Linked DNA regions of Homo sapiens: regions 1, 3 and 4 are each linked to region 2. The links are contacts of gene promoters, found by promoter capture Hi-C in blood cells and fetal thymus (Javierre and others, 2016). All regions are on one chromosome and are shown on one strand. Each heading gives the region's core, a stretch centred on a gene start or on the middle of the fragment in contact. The rest is flanking DNA. Distances are from core to core; before and after follow the strand shown.

Evidence for each region. The method cuts DNA at HindIII sites, captures the fragments that hold promoters and counts their contacts. A CHiCAGO score of 5 or more calls a contact.
Region 1: a contact is called between a fragment that was not itself captured here and the fragment with the promoter of TSPYL4 in region 2, in 15 of 17 cell types (naive B cells, total B cells, monocytes and 12 more). The highest score is 16.9, in naive B cells.
Region 3: a contact is called between a fragment that was not itself captured here and the fragment with the promoter of TSPYL4 in region 2, in 8 of 17 cell types (fetal thymus, total B cells, naive B cells and 5 more). The highest score is 10.3, in fetal thymus.
Region 4: a contact is called between a fragment that was not itself captured here and the fragment with the promoter of TSPYL4 in region 2, in 1 of 17 cell types (monocytes). The highest score is 5.3, in monocytes.

Annotation. Positions count from the first base shown.
Region 1 is chr6:116,553,715-116,556,819 of GRCh38, forward strand. It overlaps CALHM4 (calcium homeostasis modulator family member 4), which reads left to right and starts at 37. Exons shown (of 2, transcript NM_001366078.2): 1 at 37-637. The coding sequence starts at 80. The HindIII fragment of the contact is 685 bases long and covers 1,099-1,783 here.
Region 2 is chr6:116,252,671-116,255,776 of GRCh38, forward strand. TSPYL4 (TSPY like 4) reads right to left here and starts at 1,405. Exons shown (of 1, transcript NM_021648.5): 1 at 1-1,405. The coding sequence starts at 1,338. The coding sequence ends at 94. It also overlaps a transcript of DSE not described here. RefSeq lists enhancers at 977-1,136, 1,547-1,776. The HindIII fragment of the contact is 9,221 bases long and covers 74-3,106 here.
Region 3 is chr6:116,596,894-116,599,880 of GRCh38, forward strand. RWDD1 (RWD domain containing 1) reads left to right here. Exons shown (of 7, transcript NM_015952.4): 7 at 1-782. Among named protein-coding and RNA genes, the nearest start is that of RSPH4A, 18 kb to the right of the region's middle. RefSeq lists silencers at 1-280, 30-230. The HindIII fragment of the contact is 1,103 bases long and covers 1,163-2,265 here.
Region 4 is chr6:116,512,919-116,516,018 of GRCh38, forward strand. The region is part of intron 3 of TRAPPC3L (trafficking protein particle complex subunit 3L); the gene reads right to left. It overlaps CALHM5 (calcium homeostasis modulator family member 5), which reads left to right. Exons shown (of 2, transcript NM_153711.5): 2 at 2,682-3,100. The coding sequence ends at 3,071. Among named protein-coding and RNA genes, the nearest start is that of CALHM5, 2.8 kb to the left of the region's middle. The HindIII fragment of the contact is 707 bases long and covers 1,105-1,811 here.

The DNA.
Region 1 (3,105 bases), core at 191-2,690, 300 kb after region 2:
ATCCCATAAAATGGTTATAGCTGGTGGAGTCTAATGATCAGAAAGGGCCACAAGCTGATTTGTGTAACAGCTTCCCAAGATGTGCCCAACTCTCAACAATATTGTGTCTTCTCTGCAGAGAAATGGAATATTTATCAATTCTTTAATTGCAGCCTTGACTATTGGTGGGCAACAACTCTTCTCCTCTTCTACATTCAGCTGTCCTTGTCAGGTTGGAAAAAATTTCTATTATGGTTCTGCTTTTCTTGTCATTCCTGCCTTGATCCTTCTCGTTGCTGGCTTTGCTCTGAGAAGCCAAATGTGGACAATTACCGGTGAATACTGCTGCAGCTGTGCCCCTCCATACAGGAGAATCAGCCCCCTAGAGTGCAAGCTGGCTTGCCTTAGGTTCTTCAGCATCACTGGGAGGGCAGTTATTGCTCCTTTAACTTGGCTGGCGGTGACCCTGCTGACAGGCACGTATTATGAATGTGCAGCAAGTGAATTTGCATCTGTGGACCATTACCCAATGTTTGATAATGTCAGTGCCAGCAAACGAGAAGAGATCCTGGCTGGGTTTCCATGTTGCAGATCAGCTCCTTCTGACGTGATCCTAGTAAGAGATGAAATAGCTCTTCTGCACAGATACCAGTCACAGGTAAGTTTTTAGAATTTTTTTCCCTCTGCTATGTTATCCTATAGAACTACAGTCAATGGAAACATTTCAGATTCCTACTGCTTCTTATATTCTCTGATTATAGAACACAATACTAGATGCTGTTCATCAAAGTGAGTTCTACTGAGCAAATATATATAGTTAGGATGTTGGGCTTTGGAGTCAGCAGAACTGAGTTTTAGTCTTGCTTTGCCACTTATTAACCTGCAAAACCTTGAGTAAAATGGGGATATTCATGGCACCTACCACATGGGGCTGCTGTGGGGAATACATTACCAATATATCTGGAGTGTTTAATATGATTTCTAGAATCTATATTAAGAACAATAGATTTTAGATGTTATGAATATTATTATTGCTATATTAGTAAATCCCATTTTCTGTATATATATATTCTTAAATATGCATTCTTATATATTACTATCTCATCTAAAATTATAAGAAGCTTAATTATGATGAAAAATAACTCCAGTTATGATTCTAAATTTGGTGTCTATGGATAGGTTTATGTCAGAAAGTGAGGTGGGGTGGGAAGAAAGCCTGAACCCTACTACATTTATAGGTTGAATTTTAAAAGTGCTATTGTGCATTTTGTCAGTAGAAAGAGTGACACTGCTGTCATCAATTTCTCCAAGGGATCTGAGGAAAAAACACATTTTGAAATCATCATCATATAGTAAAAACATGGCTTTTTAAAACTACTTATTGCAAAGGCGTGCATATTTTTTGACTGGTAACCTTAGAGTTATTACATTTCAGAAATGCTAAAGTTATTTCGTTGGGAAAAGCTACTATCAAGACACAGAATATCAAGTTATTGCAATATGGCCCAGTTTTTAAAAAGTTAGAAATACCATTAGATATGCTCTGTCTTAACTTTTTTAATACTAGCCCTAATGCTCAGAGGAGCTATGTAAAAATATGTGAAAATTCAAAAAATCAATAGAAAAATTATAACTTAAAATAATTTTCTTGCTTAAGAAAAGCTAAAATGTAACACACATTGGTAAGATTTTCTTAAAGTCAAAACAAAATGTGTTATTAAACGCATACACAGATTTCTGTGAAAAGACAGTTTTACAGTTCTGAGTACCATTGCCAGTAGATTGTTTGGTTTTGTGACAACAAAGCTTACATTTATTGATGTACTTATCACATACTGTATAAATATTTCATATCTTAATTTAGTCCTGATAATATTGAGAGACTGATATTACTACCCCATTTTACAGATAAGTAAATCAAAGCTCAAAAAGTTTATGTAACTTGTATAATTCAGGGCTAATAAACTGGATCAAGATATCCCAAGATCATGCTATTTCCATTTCACTAGGCCATCTTCTGTGACTGTCTCAGTCACATTTCAAGAATATACATTATTTTTCAGTTAGATTTTTGTGAATTGACCACAAAATCACCTTGAATTCAAATCTTTTCTTTGCCCATGCCCTATTCTAAAATATCTTCCTCACATTAACTTCACTCCATGTCAATCTGCCTTCTAGATATATGCCAAAAATATCTTTCTAAGTGCAAATTGAATGATGAGATCCCTTCCCTACTGCATATAAAGCCCTTCAGTGATTTTCTACTAGCCTAAGAACAAACCCACTTTCTTGGCATAACATGCAAGGCTTCAACATCTGGCCCTTGACCACTTTTACATGACTCCTATGAGCATGTGAGTCCAAATGTGTTGAGGTTCTGCCAACTATTCATGCTATTTTCCTTTACCTTCTTAGAACTCTCTTTACCTTCTTGCATTTGATGAACTTCTTTTTAATAATTTAGGCTTTTGCATTATCTCCTCTGGGAAGTATTCCCTGATAATCCTTTCCCTTAAGTGAGTTCATTCCATTGTGCTTCCTCGGGTGCTCTGATTACTCATATCAAAAACTATCCCATTGTACCATATTTCTTGGATTGCTCATTTGTCTCCTTTTTTAGGCTTAAAAATTATAGAGAAAATGAATGCATCTTTAATTATTCACATCTGAGTTCCCCATAACCAAGCACATGTATTACACATGGGGGAAGGTCAACCTGGAGCTCAGTAAATGATTGTTTATAGGTTAATGGGCATCTGAGATGGCTTTTCCTCCGCCATGCTGGCCTCTGTTTAGTTAAATGGTAATAAATACCACTTTGTAGGTTTTAGCCTCCGTAGAGTACAACTATCCCACTGTGCACACACTGGAAACTTCAGGCCTGTTGGTAAATCACAAGATGCAGAAGAGGCCTTCACTACCCAAGCTGTGGCTGCATACTGCTAGCGTCCCTAAATATGTGGAACTTACCTCTCTCACTTTACATAAGAAGTGCAAAATATTGAAAACAGTAAAATGAAAAGAAAAAAAGGATTCTAAGAATAGAAAACAGCCATTTGATTCAATCTTTAAAAGCCGACACTAAATAGTCTCAAAAACTAGTTCATTTTCCTTTTAAAGTAT
Region 2 (3,106 bases), core at 155-2,654:
AAAGCAGATGGAAGACTGCATGCTGTTGGCCAAGCATAGGTCCAAGAGGAGGTGGTAAGGAAACTTGTGCAGAAGCTTCTCACAGGACAGAGATTAGCCAGACTGGAACCTGAAGGATCTGGCGCTCTCCACTGGCTGCCTTGGTGGGCCTCGAATTCCTCTACGGGGCCCTTCACCCATCAGGTAGTATTGTAGGGGATTGGGCCACAGTTCTCCTTTGATAATCTCTGCAATTCTGTCGAATTCTAGAAGGCTGTGGTCTGAAAACCAGTTGAAGAAACTAGGGATAGTGTTCCCTTCCCGGTTTCTGTGGATATGAGCCTGGGGGTCTTGGCCTCGGTGCCAGCGGATTGGAGTGGAAAGAGACACCACCCGGCCAGAGGATCTGCGTTCATATTCCTTGACAAGCCCCTCATTTCGGAAGTAGGGGTTGCCCTGAAAGATGAACTTGAATTTGCAGCCTGCTCTGGGGTGTTTAAGCTCCTCCACCTCCAAATTGATCATGTACCTCAGCATGTCTTCATCTTGGCCACTGATCATAGGTGACAGCTGGGGGTGGTTTCGAAAGGCAGTAACCCAGAAACCTGGGATATTCTGGATAATGAAACTTCTGCGCTGCATGTGGAGCCTTCGCATGCGGCCAAACTTGCGCTCAAGCTGAAGGAAGGCCCTGTCAGCCTGGGCATTTACGTTTGACAACTCTTGATCGATGGCCTCCAGTGAGTCCATGCAGTTATTGATCTTCGGGGCCCTGGGCCGTGTCTCCTCTTTCACCCCTCCTGCCACCTTTTTTTCCTTCTGCACTACCTTCTTTTCCTCCATCGCCGCCCCTGCTTCTCCCTCCTTTTCCACTGCTGCCGAGATGGCGCGTTTTTTAGTCGTCACTTCCTTGGCCTTCTTCCCCGGTATCATCTGAGACCCCAAGCCCCCTGCGCCACAGGCTTCTAGAGCCTTCTGCCCAGCAGGGCCACGGGGCTCTCCAAGCTGACAGCCATTTTTCTGGCTGCTGTCAGCAGCCTCGGCGGCAGAGGCTGCTTCCAGACCTTTCGTAGAAGGTGGAGCATCCTCCTGCCCGGCTTTGGTCGCTGCACCGCCGCGACTCCCGGCAACTGGGACGCGGAGCGCGGGGCCACAGTCGACAGGATCCTGGGATGCACCCCCCTCCGCAACGGTCTCCAGGCTGCCCCCACCTGTGTTCGCCATCACCTGTGTCGCCTCGGTTTCTTCACGGAGCCCTTGGCACTGGTCTCGGTCCGGATCTCCTGAGGCATGGTCGGGAGCAGCCAGGCCGCCGGTTTGGGCGAGAGGGAGCTTGTTGCCCCCATCCAGGCCGCTCATTTTGGAAGAAGTCAGACTAGTGGGAGAGGGAGAGTTCCTTGTCCTCCGCAGCGGCCGAGCTCTGCCCGAAACGTCTAGCACCACCCCTCCTTTACTCTCGGCGGTGCTACCATGGCAACTGGTGATGTCAGGGCGGTAGCGTCGTAACATCGCGCGAGAACTCTCTGCGCGGTTGACTACGCTTATCAATCCATCGTATTCCTTTGTCTTCTTGTCACAAAAAGAATTTCGTCAGTCTGGAAGGGGAGTTTTACTTACGTAAATGGATGTAGACCAGACTCAAGCATGTAAGAACTGTGTTAATGTGGATTTCTAAGCCTCTGAATGAATTTCTAAGGCACCTAACCTATTGTTTCTGAAAATATTTACTTTAAGGTGAGTTACTGTCTATTCAAGTCAGTTCATAGGGCTTCTCCTGAGTAGGAAAGTGGATTCACGAACTCACAGGCCTTCCTTCTTTTAAGGTGTGGATTCATGGCTATTACCAAAGAATTTAAATGAGCAGAGTTTGATTTTAAAGAGAAGTGTTGCTGTGTTGTTATTTTTAAAATTAAGGAGCAGCTGAAAGGCAAACTTCTCTCATCCTAACAAGACATAATAAAGGAATATTTCAATTTGTCTTACAGATTTTAAAGTTTATATAATTTGGCCAACATCTACAAAACAAGTGGACAATATTTCCTCTTCACTTTTAACAAAGAGTAGCAAAATGTTTTTCCTTACGTAGAGGTGACTGGCACACGAGCACAAATTTAGGCTTTTAAGCATTACTGAAAGAAATATCTCAGGGGATTTTAATTTCTAAACTGATGCATATGTTCTTTTCCTCAGGTTACAATCTTAATCTAAAAGTGGTTCCTGCTTCATAATGCCTGTGGACATGAAGCTAACAAATCTTTTCAAAATGTGTTCATGTGGTAATTCACTGCAGCACAGGAGCAATAATCAGCTATGTGCAGGCATCTATGCTACTGTCTCTTAAAATACTTTAAAAGTAAGGTTAGTTATTGTCTATTCGAGTCAGTTAGCTCTTACAATTCATTTGATAGTGATTATCAGTACAATATATTAGTTTGTTGGAGTGTGAGAATAATGGTGTTAATCCTTAGAAAAATGCAAGACCAAAGGGAAATTTAAATTTTGCATATTTATGTTTAATGTCAAATTTATATTCAAATAAACGGTTATGATTATAACTCTTTGTAAAAGAAACTCCATTTTAAGCCCCCCAGATTATGATCACTTTCAAATACAGGCTCAGAAGTACAGATTTAGAGAAAAAGGATTCCTCTTAGAGGAATACATCATATATACTGAGACTTCTAGCGAGGGAAGGAGTGTAGTTCTGGTTCAACTAAGATAAAGTACTGATGAAAGGTCACTGGCAGACAATACGGAGAAACAGCCTGCCTTGCAGGATTTTTTGTATGCCTAGTCAGCCTACCCAAGGACAATGTGTCCAGAATGACCTCTTTACTGCCTGCCAGCTAATCAGTTATCCCATAAGAAATATGCAAACAAGATTCACACAGCAGAGAGCAATTATTTTTCTCTCCCTCTTTCCTCTTTGTCTTAATAAACGCTCTTTTTTTATTTGTGGGGTGAAATCAATCTATTGAGGTATCGTCTTTGTAAACACATAAACAGCGTGCTATAATTGACTTTGTGACTTTGAATTATTGACACTGCTCTGTTTCTTTTCCAAAGAACCTTTGCACTGTTGAAAGAGTAACTTTTCCATTATAACCTGAGTCAAGATGAAGAGAAG
Region 3 (2,987 bases), core at 464-2,963, 340 kb after region 2:
TTTAATATTCTGGCCAGCACCTTATCCATTTGTAGCCACGCCAACAAATTTATTCTGTGATATACCAAACTTACAAAGTCACTCTGCGATTTCAGTAAGGCCCATTCCCAACATGAGTGCTGCTGTCCACGGTACTGAACCATCAATGCTAAATGGTATTTAGTTGTGGATCTTCATCCTGTCATGCAGCTAAATATTCCAGGAATACTGAACCAAGTGAGGAGAAAGATAGCAGTGGGTTGCTGCAAAGGAGGTGAGGGGAGGGGAGAGATAGCAAGTGAGAAAAAGAGAGACTAGTGGTGATGTTTTTAAGTAATTGAAGTAAAAAAGAGAGAGAAAGAGAGAGAGAAGAGGTTCTACTCAGTCCACCAAAGCTTTTTAATTTCCTTACATAATTAACATGATGAATTTTTAAATAATTGTTATATTTAGTTTTGTTCTTCCACCTTTTGGCTATTTCTACTACATATTTACTTATCATAAAAAATACTTCCTAGACCTTCCTCTTATAGCTATTGCCTATCTCTGCCTTTGCAGCTGTTCTCCTTTAAAGAGTAGTCTCCATTAGTTTTCTTGACTTCTTCATCTCCCTGCATAAAGATGAAGGGTATTTAGCTCTGAAAATCCTTTACTGTTGAATATTTAGATTGTTTTCAATTTTTACATAATGAACAATGCATCATGGGATTATTGGCTGCAAATAAATTGGAAACATAAAAGGTGTTTTAAGTTTAAATTTTTTTAAAAAAACAGGTAAAAATAAAATATTTGCCAAAGACTAAGGGTTGCAAAGCTACCTCATGATACACTCTTATACCAATACTAAAATAAACTTCACAACAACAAAATTAGTGATTGGGAAATTACAGTTTTGATGAACTTGGCATTTCAATCAAAGTCATATTTGCCACCGTTCTCTCAGTAGCTTTAGGCCAATTTCCAAATTGCTTTCGACAAATTAGTTTTATTTGTTTATATTATATTATATATATATAATATACATATATTTAAATTATATTTATAATTCTTTCAGTCAGATTTCCTGGAGAACAATAGTTGTTAGGTGCCTACCAGAAAATAGGACTAGAAAGTCATGTTGGAGCCATATTGTGGAAGTCCAAGGAAGTCGGATGGGAGCAAAGGTCATTTCAATTATATATCAAGCTTATATTCTATGGAAACTAACCCCTTCCTAGCACATATATTATTGAAAAATTATTCACCTGCTATTTTATCAATGTCATTTATAAATTAAAATTTTTCTTATTATAACTATACCTTAAAAACACCAATAAAATTGCCAGATCACTGATATTCCTGCTTTTATTATTATAAGATAATATATCAGTTCTTCAAATACACCTTTGAGTAGAAGGATGGAACTGAAAATTGATTTGGGTTTATTTAAAAGAGAAACCTTTCAACAATCCTAAATCTCAGATTTTTAATAGCATTTTTGTTGTTTGAGTATGGCCAGTTTCCTATTTATTTCCTATTTCTTATTGTTTGACAGTGCCCATTTATGTAGGAAAATCAAAATGGAAAAGTACATTAGAAAACGTATAAATCCTTCAACTTAAAGATGTATGATATTGGTATCTGGTTGCATAAGTTTCTAGTCAGAGGCTTTTCTAGTCATTTCTGTTCAAAAGTGGGATCCACCAGAATGTACACGTGATGATGGACCTTGTCTGTCTGTTCCCCAGTTTATTGTTACTATGAGAATAATGCCTAGCAGAGAGCAGGCAGTCTGTAAATACTTGTTGAGTGTATACATGAATAAGTCCTTTTGTACTACTGTTTTGTAACGTACTGTAACTTTTATTTTATTTTTTTGAGATAGGGTCTCATTTTGTCACCCAGGCTGGAATGCAGTAGCGTGATCTCAGCTCACTGCAGCCTTGACCTCCTGTGCTCAAGCCATCCTCCCACCTTAGCCCCCAAATTAGCTGGGACTACAGGCATGCGCCACCACACCTGGCTAATTATTATTATTATTATTCTTGTTTGTATTTTTTGTAGAGGTGAGGTTTCGCCATATTGCTCAGGGTGGTCTTGAACTCCTGAGCTCAAGCAATCCACATGCCTCAGCCTCCCAAAGTGCTAGGGATTACAGGCATAAGCCACCACACCTGGCCGCTGTAATTTTTAAAATAGACAATTTGTCAGATATATAGGTTGGGATAAACGAAAATGTGACAAAAGGAGCGTCCCTCTGCCAATTTAGAAATATAAATATGCATAAAAATACTTAAAGATACACGAAGCTTTGGGAAATTGCCATACACACACTCTATCCCCAGTATACCAGTATTTTACAGATTTTAAAACCAGTAACAAATATTTATTTACAATACCATTCTGCCTAAAATTTACCTATTAGCCAGATTGCTTTATGCATTTGGTCAAATTGCATTTAGTCAAATTGTTTTCAGCCAAACCTTATGCGCACATGCTAGCCAGTGGGATGATAAGAGACAAGAGATGTAGTCTGTCTTCTTGAGGTATTCTCATATTTCCGGGCACATAAATACAGTATTGAATGAAAACTTACAGGATGCTCCAGGGTCACAAAGGAGGGACATCTAAGTTAACCTGGGATTGGGATGGCCCAATGAGTCTTCTCAAAAGAAGTGCTTGAAATGACCAGTTGGAGGGCAGGAGCTGTGTTTTATTTGACTTTATATTTACTGCTTTGTAGATAATCTATACTAAATAATTATTGGATGAAATAATCATTGAAATCTGAAATAATTATTCATGTAGTAATTTATTGGATGAATAAATGAAATCAAGTTGAAGATGCATGGGAACATATTTAAACTGTTGTATCTTGGGATTTAAGCTGGATGAAAAAATAAGTCAAAGGAAGCATTTATGTGGGGAGAAATGGAAGCTACATATCTCTTTAAAATCAAAGATTATTCCTAATGGAAAATAAGGAAAAGAGAAAATTTGAATTCTGGGAGACTTAGGTTTCTGAGAAG
Region 4 (3,100 bases), core at 208-2,707, 260 kb after region 2:
TCAAGATTTGGGCATTGTTTTATTTAACAGAAGGAAATCATATCTTTACCTAATTGATGCAGGGAAGTAGCCTGTCATTCCTCCAGGCACATGAACACAAATCCAGATGTACAGCCTTAGGAAGGACTAACTTCCCATTTATAGGTAGTAAGAATTGCATTCCCAAAAGCAAAACAAGTGGTAAGAGTTGATAAGCAGATCCACAAATTGTCAGGAATGCTATCTGTTTCAGAATAAAGGCACAGAAATAGCATTATTTTACTTTTTCGACAAGGATTTGCCTTGGTAACAACAAATCAAGGCAAAATCTGTTTTTAAAATCATACACTCCAAAGCTGGTTGGCAGTAAAGTCATACTCTTCATAAATTGATAAGTCAAAAAATACTCCAAAACAAAATCTTTTCTTTAATGCATAAAGCACATCTTAGATAAAACATATCAGGCTCCCAAATGTCTTGTGTCTTTTATTGAAGAAGGGTATAACTTACAACTCTTATGACAGAATGATTGATTTATGGTGTATGTCCTCAGTCACCAGGCTCCATTCAGTCAGTGGCAGGCCCAAACACTTATCATTGTGTGAGCTTCTCCTCTCTAAACACAGGTACAAGGAAATCTTGCACATCATGTCATAGCTTAGGCTGAGCACACTGACCTGCTGATTCTTCATCAGAATGAGAAGGACCTGGGGCTGATTCCTGTGGGAAGATGCATAAGGAATGTGGGCAAGAGAACTTGTATCAATAGCAGGTGCTGACTACAGAGGTTCAGATAGGCAGGAGGCAGCATATAGTCCAGACCAACAATAGGTGTACATGTGCCTGGAGGCGGAAAAGAACATTCATCCATGGGTGGGGCAGATAAAAAATCTAGCTGGATGACTCTCTATTCTTAAGGAAGATAGAATGGAGTAGTGGAAAGAGCTCAGTCTTGGAATTGTCTGGCGTTGGGTTTGTATGCTGATGCTACCAATCACCAGCTATGTGACCTAGAACTAGTGGTTCGACCTCTTTGAGTCCCAGTTTTCTCATAGTTAGTGGTAATATCACTTACTTTGGAGAGTTGTCGGAAGATTTAGAGATGATAGATACAAATGGGCATAAAGCTTCTGGTACACAGTATTTGTTCCAAGTCAATGAGGAAAACTGCCATGGTTTGGGGGAGGACATATGCAAAATAAGACACTTTTGAGGGCTGGTATGGAAGCATCCACCAAGCTCTAGTTTGACTCTGGGTACTGTGAATTGAGGGAAAGCATCGGTCAATGCAAACGTCATGTGAAAGGGGGAAGGGGACCTGAAGCTGATGGAATAGTTTATAATTCAGCTGGAACTGGCTCAGGTACTGAGATGAGATGGCGTACAGAAGCCTCAGCTGTGGAAAAAGAGGAAGACAGACGATGAAGGAAGGAGGAACATATAAGGTAGCCAACCACAATCCATTCAGGGACTTTCACTTGATGGTAGTTGTGCCTCACTCATTAATTATAAGTACAGAAAGATATTATGAGTTCAGTAACACATTTACATAAGTGTATATATATTTGAAGAATAGCAGCATATAATATTAGCTAAAACTTAATGAATACATGTGTCCAGTATCATTTCATTAGGTCCATCAAATTACCCTTCAAGGTGAGTAACCCTCGTTTCACAAGTGAAGAAACTGAGATAAAAAGAATACGCATAGTAAGGGGAAAGTTTAGATTTAAACCTGAGTAGTGCCAGTCCAGAGTTGGCATTGGTGCAGAGGTTGAGACCCTTCACAAACACTCTATATCTGAGTCAAAGGTTGGGAACCACTGATTTAAAGCTTATTTGTGGTTTTGTTATGGTCTGAATGGGTTCATTTGTAGATTATTATTTCTATTTTCAAATAGGCTCATCTGCTAAAGAATATTAAGGATCATTTAAACTAAATGTCAAGAGACACTTTGAAAAAGATGTTAGTTTTCCAAACATAAAATTAATTTCAATTGTGAAAACAGAGTTAGAGCCAAAAAAGTTAGAAGATAATTTAAGCTATTTAAACTTCTGCTTTTAAGATCCAGGGGAGAAAAGCTGAACCATTTCATATTCAGGAAAGAGTTTGTTTTTTCTAATTACCAAAAATCAAGACAAATCATTTTCAAGGTTTTAATGATCCTAATTTTTTCTCAGCCTTTAAATTCTTATAGCTTCAGCTTCCTGATTGTATCGTCTGTCTCCCTTTTCCATGGACAGTAAGTAATGACAGAAAAAAATTAGTCTCTAGCCATGTATATACATTTATCAATGCCTAAAAATGCCTGGCTGAAGAGCTGGTCATTTACTCAAATGACCACATTTACTTATGCACAGAATATTTTCCTATCAGAGCTAATACTATTTGAGCTTGATTTCTGTAAGTCTTATGTAATCTATACTTTGTACTCTTTTCTATCTGCCTGCCTTCTGGTTATTTCTTTGCACCAGCAATGTTGGGGAGGAGAATAGAGATTAGGTAAACCCTAACTTTATTTTGAGTTTACCTAATAAATTCAAAAAGTGAGTTTAAAGTGTTTAAAAATTAAGATGAATGATTTCAAATGAGGTATGTCAAAGACTGTGGTAATAATTTAGCTATACACTTCTCAATAATACCCCAGCTCCCTAAATGGCTTTGCTTTCACGTGTGTACTCAATATTTCTTTCTTCTTAAGATTCTAGGATGGTGCCTGATTTGTTCAGCGTCTTTCTTCTCTCTGCTCACCACATGTTATGCTCGCTGCCGATCTAAAGTTAGCTACCTTCAGCTGAGTTTTTGGAAGACATATGCACAAAAGGAGAAGGAGCAGTTGGAAAATACATTTCTGGACTATGCCAACAAGCTGAGCGAGAGGAACCTGAAATGTTTTTTTGAAAACAAGAGGCCAGATCCTTTTCCCATGCCTACGTTTGCTGCCTGGGAGGCTGCTTCAGAGCTGCATTCTTTCCACCAAAGCCAGCAACACTATAGCACCCTCCACAGAGTGGTGGACAATGGTCTGCAACTTAGCCCTGAGGATGATGAGACGACAATGGTCCTTGTGGGTACTGCCCACAATATGTAGCTCATCCACCATCAATGACTCATGGTGTT